Regions from separate parts of the Homo sapiens genome. Here region 2 is linked to region 1. The links are contacts of gene promoters, found by promoter capture Hi-C in blood cells and fetal thymus (Javierre and others, 2016). All regions are on one chromosome and are shown on one strand. The core of a region is centred on a gene start or on the middle of the fragment in contact, and the rest is flanking DNA. Distances in the headings are between cores, read along the strand shown. Region 1 holds the start of UBA2 (ubiquitin like modifier activating enzyme 2). Region 2 overlaps GARRE1 (granule associated Rac and RHOG effector 1).

What was found. The method cuts DNA at HindIII sites, captures the fragments that hold promoters and counts their contacts. A CHiCAGO score of 5 or more calls a contact.
Region 2: a contact is called between a fragment that was not itself captured here and the fragment with the promoter of UBA2 in region 1, in 2 of 17 cell types (naive CD4 T cells and total CD8 T cells). The highest score is 6.8, in naive CD4 T cells.

What each region holds. Positions count from the first base shown.
Region 1 is chr19:34,425,948-34,432,481 of GRCh38, reverse strand. It overlaps UBA2 (ubiquitin like modifier activating enzyme 2), which reads right to left and starts at 4,101. Exons shown (of 17, transcript NM_005499.3): 1 at 3,912-4,101; 2 at 1,823-1,906; 3 at 551-621. The coding sequence starts at 4,049. LOC124904695 (a long non-coding RNA gene) reads left to right here and starts at 4,118. Exons shown (of 2, transcript XR_007067232.1): 1 at 4,118-4,360; 2 at 6,081-6,376. PDCD2L (programmed cell death 2 like) reads right to left here. Exons shown (of 7, transcript NM_032346.2): 7 at 6,314-6,492. The coding sequence ends at 6,362. RefSeq lists silencers at 3,604-3,763, 3,834-3,943, 3,974-4,213. The HindIII fragment of the contact is 4,339 bases long and covers 877-5,215 here.
Region 2 is chr19:34,339,266-34,345,799 of GRCh38, reverse strand. GARRE1 (granule associated Rac and RHOG effector 1) reads right to left here. Exons shown (of 14, transcript NM_014686.5): 9 at 5,808-5,933; 10 at 3,345-4,378. Among named protein-coding and RNA genes, the nearest start is that of GPI, 23 kb to the left of the region's middle. RefSeq lists an enhancer at 3,154-3,654. The HindIII fragment of the contact is 1,543 bases long and covers 2,686-4,228 here.

The DNA.
Region 1 (6,534 bases), core at 2,852-5,351:
ACTATTTACTTGCAAGCTAAACCACCATAGATAAAGGACAATTTCGGCCCACAGTTCCTTTGCTCCAACTCCTCCAAAATTATATATTTACTCTATCTTTACTGAGATAAATATATTTATGTACTGTCAATACTACTGCCCTACCACAATTCCAAGTGTTATATTACAGAAGTCAGAGTCATACTACAGATTATTTTGGGAGGGAAACTTTTAAACAAAAAAAGGCAAACACTTTAGAAAAGTCTGAATCATCATAAATAAGGATATTTCATAGTTTAAAATATCTTCTTACTTAAGGCAAGCATATAAGGTCTTTATAAATTTCCAAGTAACTTATTTATTAAAAGTATTAAACTATCTCACCATTCTAAATCATTCAAACCATGTATTTATGAACTGGTAAAAAGAATGCCACTCTGTAAGCAGAAACCACCACTGTTTAATAATTCTAGAAAAATCATTTTTTTTAAAAAAGCTGAATGACTTTGAGCTTATATATTTGGCTTACAAAACCCTTATACAACTTTGCAATGTAATCACTATAGCATACTTCATGATGCTGTCATGGTAGGCAACGATATTAGCTTTCGGGTAAAACTGCAGTACACTTTCCTTGGCAACCTGGAAAAATAAACAACACTGAATTACTACAATATTTCTGTTCCTATCTGAAATCTGCTTCTGGAAGCCACAATGCTGTTATCTACTTACATAGTACCTTATTTATATTAAACACCAAAGAAGTCCAAAAATGTGAGAAAATTGCATTAGGGTTAAGCTACACTTATAAAATTATACTTTTATACTTATAAAATAACCGGAGAGCCCCCCCTGACCCACGTACCACCAAACACACTTCTACATGAATGGCAAGCTTCAGCAAAAATACAACATGAAGTAACCAAGTGTCATTCATTCATTCACTTAACAAGTATTTACTGAGCATCTTGCATGTACCAGGAACTATACAACGTACATGTCAAGCAAGAGAGACATTAATCAAATAACAATCCAGATTAAGTTCAACTACAGACTCTGATAAATGCCATGAGAATGACAGGAAAAGGCCAGGCATGGTGGCTCATGCCTGTAATCCCAGCACTTGGGAGGCCAGTGTAGGAGGATCCCTTGAGGCCAGGAGTTCTAGGCTGCAGTAAGCCATGACCGCATCACTCCACTCCAGCCTGGGGCGACAGAGTGAGACCCTATCTCTAAAAAAAAAAAAAAAAAAAAAAAAGAAAAGAAAATGATAGGAAAAGTAAAGTAAAGGTTGTTATGAGAGAAAAACCAACCTGACTTAGTCTAAAAGGTTTAGGAAAGTACTCCTGGAGGAGGAAGCCAAAATATGAAAGAAAAAGAGAAACAAGTGGGGGTTTGCCAAACAGGTTGGGAGACAGGCAAAGGGAAAAGATGTTTTAAGACTCTGAATCACCAAGGAACACTAAAAAAACTAAACAAAGATCGGGGGAACTGTCTTGTTTCAACTAGGACAGCAGCATAACGCTCCTCTAGCCCCCAAACATAGCAGTAGTCAACCTCTAGGGGGTGTAGGAACACAAGGTGCATCCTAAGCAAAGCATCAGAAACTTAAATATAAAGAGGCCATGAAAGTTACACCATCACGGGATTATTTCCTTTTTAGAACAAAAAAGGAGGGCTTAATCTTTAGTCCTTTACTTGATATATCTTTATCCTTCACAATCTCTCAGCTGAAATGAGAGCTTCACCCATTTTTTCCCTCCTATATGACAGGCAGGATTAATCTGGTATCACAAATAGAAGCTCCATCAAGTTATAGAAATGGTATGAGAAATATAGTTACCTGTGCCTTTGATCTTCCAACATGTTTCTTTTGAAACAAAAACTGTCTGTTGAGGTTGCTTACATCAATAGTATCCAGATCAATCTACAAATGCATAAACCCCAGATAAATGACAAACGTTTACGTATGTTTGAGCTGTATCACTACTCTCAGCACCTGTAATCCAGAACTTTTGATATCTGCTACATTAGTGGAGAAAGCGTTTTTCGAATCGCCATACCAAAATTGTTAAACTGATAAAGAATAATTTAATGCATGTAAGAATCTAGATTTAATGTCAGAGATAAACTTCTCAAAAATACTTTGAAAGAATGGTATATTTTGTTTGTTTAATCATCCTGGAAAATATTTCAGGAAACTCCCTGGATGCCATAAAAATATGTGAATTCATTAAAACTATATGTGCTGTCGAGGTAAACACTAACTGAAAATATATTAACATATTTCTCTACACCGGGAGTGGTGGCTCATACCTGTAATCCCAACACTTTGGGAGGACAAAGTGAGAGAATCGCTTGAGCCCAGACCTTCAAGACCAGCCTAAGCAAAATAGTGAGACCCTGGTGGCTACAAGAAATAGAAAAAATAAAATTAGGTGGCACATGCCTGTAGTCACAGCTACTCGGGAGGCTGAGGTGGAGGATCACTGGAGCCTGGGAGGCGGAGGTTGCAGTGAGCCGAGATCGGGCCACTGCACTCTAGCCAGGGTGACAGGGCCAGACCCTGTCTCAAAAAATACTAAAGTATTTCTCTTTCAATCGAATTACTCTTTCAAGTACAAAATATTAAATTTAACTATGCCCTGTTCTTTTTCTTTGTTTTTTGAGACAGGGTCTCCCTCTGTTGCCCAGGCTGGAGTGCAGTGGTGCAAACACAGCTCACTGCAGCCTCGACCTCCCAGGCTCAAGCGATCCTCCTGACACAGCCTCCCGGGTAGCTGGGACCACAGGCGCACACCACCACGCCCCGCTAATTTTCTTTTTTTGTAGAGACGGGGTTTCTCTATGTTGCCCAGGTTCTGTTCTTTTTCTTAAATGATACATGGCAAACGTTTATTGAATTTTTGCTGCCTCCCTTAATTCAAGCCTTCATCCATACACAATTTCATTTACTATTAACCTGAGAACTGTGAAAGGAAACTTTTACACATGGTTAAAAAAGTATCATGTTTTAAGTTTTATCTAATTTTTGCTTAAATATATAATACATAAAGGAAAGAAACAATGACTCAGTCGGCCACCCGTACTTTTTTGTTCATTCCATGTTTCCACTAGCCCTTAAGACACTTTAAACTCACACCGAAGGGCCAGTAACATCTCCAATCTCTAAAAAGTTTGCATTAGTAGAAATAACGATTCAAAATAGCACTGGCTTGTCAACGTACACCAATGCAAAAGGCACAGTCCTAACGTCTTTAATGAAACAAGCGAGTGTACCGTCTACTGTGAGAGCAATGACAGTCACGCAGCCTGCGGGAGCCCTGCCACTCGCTCCGTGACCCAGGGTAAGTTACTCAACCCCATTGCGTCTCCCTTTCCTCATCTGTTAAAAATAAAGCAGGGTGGAAATAGCGTTTGCACTCCTCGGGTGGTATGAAGATGGTGCGCGTTCCGTGTGTAAACCCGCTCGTGACCAGCGCTCGGGACGCGTTGGTCGCTATCATTGCCATCCTCCGCCCCGCGTCGTTACTTCGGAGTTACGACAGGGACCTCAAAATTAAAGTCACAACATCCGCGAGGGACTCAATCCTCTCCCGCATCTCCTAACAGCCGGGAATTTGTTTTGAAGGGAGGATAAGAGGCGGCTTCACGCCCACGAAGCGCCACACATTGGCGCTGCCGGGGAGGCGGGGGCCCGCGGCCTCCTCGGCGTCCGGAGCCGGCCCAGCGAGCGGAGGCCCGCCCCGTGCCCAAAGAACAGTCTCCTCCCGCGGGGGGGGCACAACCCGAGCCTCTCAGCCTGCCCCCGCTCCGCAACTCCGGTCCCGGGCTCCGGGCCCTGAGCCTCAGAGCCCCTGGAGCCCCGGAACCCCCGAATCCCAGCCCCCGCACCACAGCCCGCCATTCACGCGCGCGCGCCCGGCCCTCACCAGGTCGATGTGGGAGAAACCGGTGAGCACGAGATTCTTGAGGAGCTCGCAGCCGATGCCGCCCGCCCCCACCACCAGCACCCGGCCCCCGGCCACCGCCTCAGCCAGCTCCCGGGGCAGCCCCCGCGACAGTGCCATGGCGGGACAACCACGAGCCGCGGCGGAGGCGGAGGCGGGAGAACCGAGCCGCGGCCGGAAGCGGGTGGGGGAAGGGCGGCCTGGTTTCCGCTCCTGCGCACTACAGCCTCCGGCAGACACAGGCAGGGCACATCGCGCCGGGGTGTGCTGCAGCCCGCGGGGACCGGCAGGCTCTTGCAAAGGGCTGGCGACCTCCAGCTGAGACCGGCGGTGTTATTCCCACACCAGCATAGGCCCGCCATCAGACCTAAAAAGTCTAAGGGTCGCCTTCTAGCCTGGGGTTTCAACTCCCAGCCAAGACTTCCTTACAGGTTAGAAAACTGATGTCCCTATACGTAAAGAGCTCTTACAAATTAACAAGTGTCACCCCCAAAAAAATATAGGCAAAGGATGTGAACAGGAAACTCACAAAAAATTGGACAATATGATCAATAAGCGTATTAAAATGTAAACCATAAAAGAATCGCTTGAACCCTGGAGGTGGAGGTTGCAGTGAACCAAGATCGCACCACTTCACTCCAGGCTGGGTAACAGAGCAAGACTCCGTCTCAAAAAAGAAAAAAATGTAAACCATGCAAAATGGTAAGATTTTCACCTGCCGGGCGCGGTGGCTTACGCCTGTAATCCCAGCACTTTGGGAGGCCGAGGCGGGTGGATCACGAGGTCAGGAGTTCTGAAACCAGCCTGACTAACATGGTGAAACCCCCATCTCTACTAAAAATACAAAAATTAGCCGGGCGTGGTGGCGTGCGCCTGTAATCCCAGCTACTCGGGAGGCTGAGGCAGGAGAATCGTTTGAACCCAGGAGGCAGAGGTTGCAGTGAGCCGAGATCGCGCCACTGCACTCCAGCCTGGGCAACAGACTCCGTCTCAAAAAAACAAACAAACAAACAAACAAAAAAAAACACCGAAACAGCTGGGGGTGGTGGCACAAGCCTGTAGCCCCAGCTACTCAGGAGGCTGAGGCAGGAGAATTGCTTGAACCCAGGAGGCGGAGGTTGCACCACTGCACTCCAGCCTGAGCAATACAGCGAGACTCTGTCTCAAAAAAAAAAAAAAGTTTTTCACCTACTAAACTGGTAGAAAGAAAAAATAAGTAACACTTATCAAGGGATTGGGAAACAAGCACTCCAACACACTCCAGGTAAAGATTCCAAAGCAAAGCTTCTCTAGAGGGCGTGGTGGCTTGCACCTGTAGTCCCAGCTACTCAGGAGGCTGAGGCAGGAGGATCACTTAAGCCTGAGAGGTCGAGGCTGCAGTGAGCTATGCCCTTACCACTGCACTCCAGCCTGAGAGACAGAGCAAGACCCTGTCTCGAAAAAAAAGAAAAAAAAACCCTAAAATTGTGCACAACTTTTGACTCATTCATTCCAATTCTAGGAAACTGTCCTGTAGCAGTTATCATTGATTTAAAATATATATAAATTTAGTTACAGGGATGGCCATCATGGGAATAAAAATTGGAAAATACAAGTGGCTAAAAATTGTATAAAGCTTTTGATGTATATTTAAAAAATAGAGCAATTATAAATTATGTTGTGGGAAAAATATTAATGGGAAAATGCTCCAAATATAATGTTAAATGCAAGAAACAAGCCCACCCCATGATCACCTAGGCCTCATTATCCTCATCTACGTAGGCAGAGCATGTCTGAACATGGCTGGGAGTGTTTTTATACTGCTGTTATGGGGCTGAAGGGAAGGGGTTGATCATGTTAAAAATAAAGAAAGGGGAAGACTGGAAGGCAGCTGGATAAAGGGACAGTCTCCAGAACGGAGTAAAGACCCCTTCCTGGGATACTGCAGGAGCAGAAGATGGGAGTGGGTGAGGGCGGGGACCTGGGCTGATGAACATGGGCAGGTCTAAACAGCCAGGGTCACAGAGCAAAAACCTCCAGCAGCTAGAGCAGGTTCAGTGGCTTGATCAGGTGCCAGAAACAGCATAGGAAGCACTGGAGTGCACGTGTCAGAGGTGTACACAAGAGGCTGACCACTGCTCTTGGCTCTTTCGCTGCTCTCCTCCCCCCTAGAATGCCCACCAGAACGGCTGTGCAGACAACACCAGCCCTCTGGACTAGAGAGGAGCTACCTTCCTAGCTGCCACTGTGACAGCTGGCCCTGGACCCTGGAAGGGCAGACCAACCCACAGTCAGGAGGTCCTGGCCCGGCCCCGGCCCCGGCACCAGCACCCAAAGGCAAAAAGGCAACTCAGAAAAACAGAGGTTAATAACTTGTGAGTTAAAATAAGGTACATACAAACATATTTGGATGTAAACATTTGTTTTAATTTATATTAATAAAAGGAAATGCTCTACTTAAACAATAATTCATCTGGGTCTTCTTGTATAATACAAAATTCTTCCATGGGAGTCTGATGATTTGGGGGCCAGCAACTCTTCTCACATGTGTAAACTAGAATTGTTCCAAATTCCACAGAAAGACCTGAAAAATACCACATATTCAGGCTTCCAGCAAAAAGAGTTA
Region 2 (6,534 bases), core at 2,208-4,707, 86 kb after region 1:
TCCAAGCCGGAGTGCAGTGGCGTGATCTCAGCTCACTGCAACCTCTGCCTCCTGGGTTCAAGTAATTCTCGTGCCTCAGCCTCCCAAGTGGTTGGGACTACAGGTGTGTGCCACCACACCTGGCTAATTTTTTTGTATTTTTGGTAGAGACGGGGTTTCGCCATGTTGGCCAGGCTGGTCTTGAACTCCTGGCCTCAAGCAATCCGCTGGCCTCAGCCTCTCAAAGTGCTGAGACTACAGGCATGAGCCACTGCACCCGGCCTCAAATATGACACAATTCTGACAAATACTGTTTATACTCTGGATTTAGTTATATGACAGTCAAAAAATGTACACACCATCTATGATCAACTGAGAAAACGCACTGTGCCCACACCAGTGGGTGGCAGCCAGTGGGCTTGCTGTTTCTTAGCAGGATGGAGGTGTTTACCCTTCTTGTGGCCCAGGGTTGCAGGCACAAGGGTTTCCTACATCCATCCACCCAAGGGGAGCAAGCACAAAACAGCAAGAGCAGCGGCATGAAGAATTTTCAGAAGACATGAGCAATGGTCAGATGCAGTGGCTCATGCCTGTAATCCCAGCACTTTAGGAGGCTGAGGTGGGTGGATCACCTGAGGTCAGGAGGTCAAGACCAGCCTGGCCAACATGGCAAAACCCCATCTCTATGGGCGCGGTGGCTCATGCCTGTAATCCCAGCACTTTGGGAGGCCGAGGTGGGCGGATCACGAGGTCAGGAGATAGAGACCATCCTGCCTAACACAGTGAAACCCCGTCTCTATGAAAAATACAAAAAATTAGTTGGGCATGGTAGCGTGCGCCTGTAGTCCTAGCTACTCAGGAGGCTGAGGCAGGAGAATGGCGTGAACTCGGGAGGCGGAGCTTGCGGTGAGCCGAGATCGCGCCACTGCACTCCAGCCTCGGGGCGGTAGAGCGAGACTCCGTATAAAAAAAAAAAAAAATTAGCTGGGTGTGGTGGCAGGCACCTGTAGTCCCAGCTACTCAGGAAGCTGAGGCAGGAGAATCATTTGAGCCCAGGAGGCAGAGGTTGCAAGTAAGTGGGGATCGCGCCACTGCGCTCCAGCCTGGGCAACAACGTGAGACTCTGTCTCAAAAAAAAAGAGAAAGGAGTGTTAACCCCAGCATTAACTTCCCTCCTGTAACAAATGCTGGGTGTTTCAGCAAGGAGTGTCCTCTTTTTTTTTTTTTTTTGAGACGGAGTCTCGCTCTGTCGCCCAGGCTGGAGTGCAGTGGCGGGATCTCGGCTCACTGCAAGCTCCGCCTCCCGGGTTCACGCCATTCTCCTGCCTCAGCCTCCCAAGTAGCTGGGACTACAGGCGCCCGCCACTACGCCCGGCTAATTTTTTTGTATTTTTAGTAGAGACGGGGTTTCACCGTTTTAGCCGGGATGGTCTCGATCTCCTGACCTCGTGATCCGCCCGCCTCGGCCTCCCAAAGTGCTGGGATTACAGGCGTGAGCCACAGCGCCCGGCCTGGAGTGTCCTCTTATGGTGGTGATTTACTTGTACAAGTATTTGCTATACTTATTTGTAACATTTCACAGTACTCCCCTGTGAATGAAATACATTTTCTACTTCTGTGTATGCCTTTTGCTAAATTAGAGAAAAAAGTTTGCATGTACCTATGTTACCAAATTCTCTTACTAATTTTAGATGGTTTTTTTTGTGGGGGGGGTTCAATTCTATTATCAGCAAAAAGATGTGCTGCTTAATTTATCATTTTCCAAAGCTTAGACCACTTATTTTATTGCTTTTTGTCTTGCTGCATTTGCTGTGAAGTCCAAGACAAAGTTACATGCTACAGGTGATAACAGTCGCCCTTGTCTGATTCCTGATATTAACTGAAATGATTTTTGTTTCATTATATAAGGCACTATTTGCTATTAGCTTTTAGTAGATAGTCTTTTTTATTTTTTATGTATTTACTTATTTTTTAGAGACAGAGTCTTACTTTGTTGCCCAGGCTGGGCTGCTGTGGTGTGATCATGGCTCACTGCAGCCTCAACCTCCTGAGCTCAAGCGATCTTCCCACCTCAGCCTCCCAAGGAGCTGGGACTACAGGCATGTGCCACCACACCCAGCTAATTTTTTATTTTTTGTAGAGATGGGGGTTTCACTATGTTGGCCAAACTGGTCTTGAACTCCTGGCCTCAGGCAATCTGCCTACCTCAGCCTTCCAAAGTGCTGGAAATTACAGGCATGAGACATCATGCCTGGCCAGGTTTTCCACTTCTTGGTATAATTTTGTAATGCCTATTTTGCTAGGAAAGAATCCATTTTCTGCTGAATTTCCAAATGTATTGCTATTAAGTCTTAGATGGTACTGTCTTAAAGTGGCTTTTTTTTGAGACAGGGTTTCTCTCTGTCAGCCAGGCTGGGGTGTAGTGGCATGATCATAGCTCACTGCAGCCTCAAAATCCTGGGGTCAAGGGATCCTACCGCCTCAGCTTCCTAAGCACCACCACACCCAGCTAATTTTGTTTAATTTTTAGTAGAGATGAGGGTTTTGTGATGTTGACCAGGCTGGTCTCGAACTCCTGGCCTCAAGTGATCCTCCAGCCTTAGCCTCTCAAAGTACTGGGATTACAGGCATGAGCCACTAAAGCGCTTTTAATGTATCCTTTCTATTTCCTAATTTTGTTTCTCTTTGTTCTCCCTTAATCAAGCTTAGAATAAATTGGCTTATACATTTTATTGGTCTTCCAAAGATCCTTTAGAGTTATTTGCAATTTCTACTCTATTTTTCTTTCTAATTTACTTATTTTTGGCTTTTCCCCCTTAATTCCTCCTCCTAGTTTGTTCTTGTTTGTAAATTCCTTCTCTAATTTTTTAAGATGACTCTGGTGGTATTTTCATTGTCTAGCCCAGGAGAAGCTGTATTCTATGAAGGCAGGAGGGTGTCTGTCACCTGTCATAGGTCCTAGAGTTTAGGCAAAAAAAAAAAGCATCGCAAAGAACAGGTTATATAATCAGGAAAAAAGCACCCCACAAAGGGCTGCTGACCTTGGCTGCCGGGAGTAGGCAGGCCTAGACTGGAGCCTACTTGAACTATGGGACTTTGAGCTGTTCAAGTAACCTCTCTTAGCCTCAGTTCTGTTCTCTATAAAGTAAGAAAAATAGTCCACTCATGTTCTCAGCCCCTTTCTCACCACTGTTTCCCATCTTGGTAGATCTGCCCCATACTTGCCTCCACAGTGAGAAAGGGTCGTAAAGGGGGATTAAATGATTTCACCTTCACAAGTAAGGCTGCAGCAGACAGGCCCTGGGAAGACCTCGGCAGTTGCATTTGCTGTTGACACTGGGCGAGGGATGGGAGGCCTCACATACCTGCAGGATCAAAAGGCAGAATCTCTCCCAGCATTCCAAAGACTCCATCACTTTGGTCACGGTTGGGCCAGGTGTTATTTCTAGGTCCCTGCGGCTTCTGTCCCAGAACCTCTGACATCACATTATCCATATAGCTGCTCACCAGACCCAAGCTGTACAAGTCAGAACTGAGATCAGATATGCCAGGCCACTGACCAAGAGGAGACAGACCTGCTCCAACAGCCTGCGCTGGCTGCTGGGATGAGCCATGTACCCATTTCCCAGGTGCCCGAGGCTGGGGCGGGGGCTGCTGCGGTCCAATGGGCTGGAGTAGGTGTTGGTAGTATTGGACTTGAGGTTGTTGCTGCTTTGGGGACTGCTGCTGAGGTGCCAGTCCCGGCTGGGGTGTCAGAGGTGTGTGTGCCCCAGCCTGGGGTGCCCGTGGTGGAGGGGGCACAGGCAGTGACGGCTGCTGTGGTTGCATGGCTCCTGCCTTCTGCTCAGTCACCATGGCTGTGGCAGCAGAATTATGCCTTGTCACCAACGGAGAGCCCTGATGTGACTGGCCCATGTTAAAGCCCGAGAGAAAATCTATCACCTCTTGCATTTCCTGATCAGTTGGTAAGTTCATACCCTTCTCATCCTTGCCGTCATCTCCATGCAGGAAGTTCTCACGCCTCTCCATGAGAAAGCCATTGGCCACTGTATTACTGGAATTCTGAGCTGACTGTGAAGGGTCTGTAGTCCTGGGGAAATTACCAATGTTCAAAATGCTTTGTAACCTTGTATCAATATTGCCAGGCATTTTGGCCTTCTCTTCGGAACATCCAGCTATGAAGATGTTTTTGGAAGGGGTATTTTGGATGGAATAATTTGTGCTGCTGCTGGAGCTGGTACATGAAGCTTTCTTGGTGAACCGGGATGTCAGTTTGGAGAATGTCTTCTGCAGGCCACCTGAAGATTTGTTTCCATTTCCAGAAGGCAGGTCAGCCTGGTTGCCAAAATCACAGATCTCCCTTTGCAGCTGGATCTGTATGCAGGGTAAAGCTTGCTCCCTATTTAAACAGAAATTTGTTTAAAAAAAAAAAAGACAAATATATAAAATAATAAAATGGACCTCTTTGTATTTAAGAATGGCGTTGAGAGCAAGAAAAACCTCTCAGGTTGGTATCGGGTTCACTTATTTTATATATAAATGAACACCCAGGGGTTTGGAGAGTATGAAATCTACAGTGTCTAACGCAGGACTGGAAGTTCTGCTAGGATTCTGGCCTGAGGAGTGTGATTCAGTGAAATCCTCTAATGGTGGCACAGGAGGGGAAAGCATGGCTAGATGTGGGGATGCAACTTGCAGAAGCTAGATTTGTGCCTGGAGGACAGGGGCTACAGCCACGCAAATGCAGCAGAGGGACAATGGACAACTCCACAAAGCAGAGGGAGGTGGTGGGGGGATGCAGGGATACTATGTGCCAACGTTGTCCCAACAGATGGCTGTGACTTTCAAAGTTTCCTGAGCACATTTTTCCCATACTAAAATGGAGCCCTAAAGAGCGAAAGGGCATGGGGCAGGAGCTGAGGCAGGTGAAGGCTGTGTGACCCTGGAAAAGTCACTTCACTATTCTGGCCTTTGTGTACTCATGAGTTAAGAAAGGGAGAAAAGGTTGGGCATGGTGGCTCACGCCTGTAATCCCAGCACTTTGGGAGGCCGAGGCAGGCACTTGAGGTCAGGAGTTTGATACCAGCCTGGCCAACACAGCGAAACCCCATCTTCATGAAAAATACAAAAATTAGCTGGGCGTACACCTGTAATCCCAGCTACTCGGAAGGCTGAGGTAGGAGGATGACTTGAGCCCAGGAGCTGGGGGATGGATGGGATGGATAGCATGGATGGAGAGCAATATTGCAGTGAGCTGAGATTGTACCACTACACTCCAGCCTGGCTGGGCAACAGAGCCAGATCCTAAAAAGACAAGATGACAAGACCAAAGACAAAGACCAAGACAGAAAAGAAAAGAAAAGAAAAGAAAAGAAAAGAAAAAGGGAGAGGGGCCATGGCTAGATGTTTAAGGCCACTACCAGATGTATACACATTTCTCAAGTTCAACCTGAGAGAACTGATTGAAAAAGAAAAAAAATTCTAAAAGACATAAGCAAATTTTCTAAACATTTCTCTGTTCTTAATTCATAAGGAGAATATGAGTTGAGTTAAAAGTCCTCTTGATGGACTTCCTCTCAAATGACAAAATAAAGGAAGGCAAAAAAGTTAGCAAATAGGGGAATCTGGTACAGGGCATGGAGCAGTTCTTTGTATTATTCTTGCCACTTTGCTGCAGGTTTTAAATTATTCTGAAAATAAAAGTTACTAAAAAGTCCTTACTGCCTTCTTTACAATACCGTATACTATCAATGACACAAGCACACATGAAACTGTGCATAGTCACACTGTCCCTCGGTATGCATCTAATGCAAACCACAGACACCAACCTTCCAGCCCTCCAGCGGTTTAGGTCCAGCACAGCTGTGTAGAGCACGTCCACTAGACCCAGGGTCTTCTCAGGATCAAGGCTTCTCTGCAGCAGGGACATGGTAGCAGGGTCTTCTTTCAGGCACCTAGGCATAGATTAGGCTGCATTAGTCTTGGCTGCATTTCTCTGCAAAGGTGTCTCAAGCAGGTCTCATAGAAAAGGCTACAACTTTTATGTACCTCTGGCGCCCAGCAAAAATTCAGTAACTGTAAGAACATGGAGAGAACAACAGGGCTGATCCTGGAACTCACTGCCCCACAAGAGGAGTAGGAAGCAAAAAGGTCTGAGGTCTCATGATATCAGAATATATATTTGGTCTCTGCCTCCAGTTCCTGATACAGAGCTCCTAAAACCCTTGAGATTTCCTAGGTGATAGTGTCTTTTGTTCTAATAAGATGACTTGCTTATATGATGAAGCCTCCATAAAAATCATCAGACCATCGGGTTCTGAGAGCTTCCACGCTGGTGAACACACTAAGGTGCTGGGCACAGGGCATAGCTGGCAAGGGCATGGAGGCTTGGAGCCCCATCCCAAACACTTCACGCTATGCACCTCTTCACCTGGCTGTTAATCTGTATCTGCTATAATATCCTTTATAATAAACCTTAAATATAATTAAATGTTTTACTGAGTTCTGTGAGCCATTATAGCAAAATATCAAACCTGGAGGTTTTGGGAACCCCCA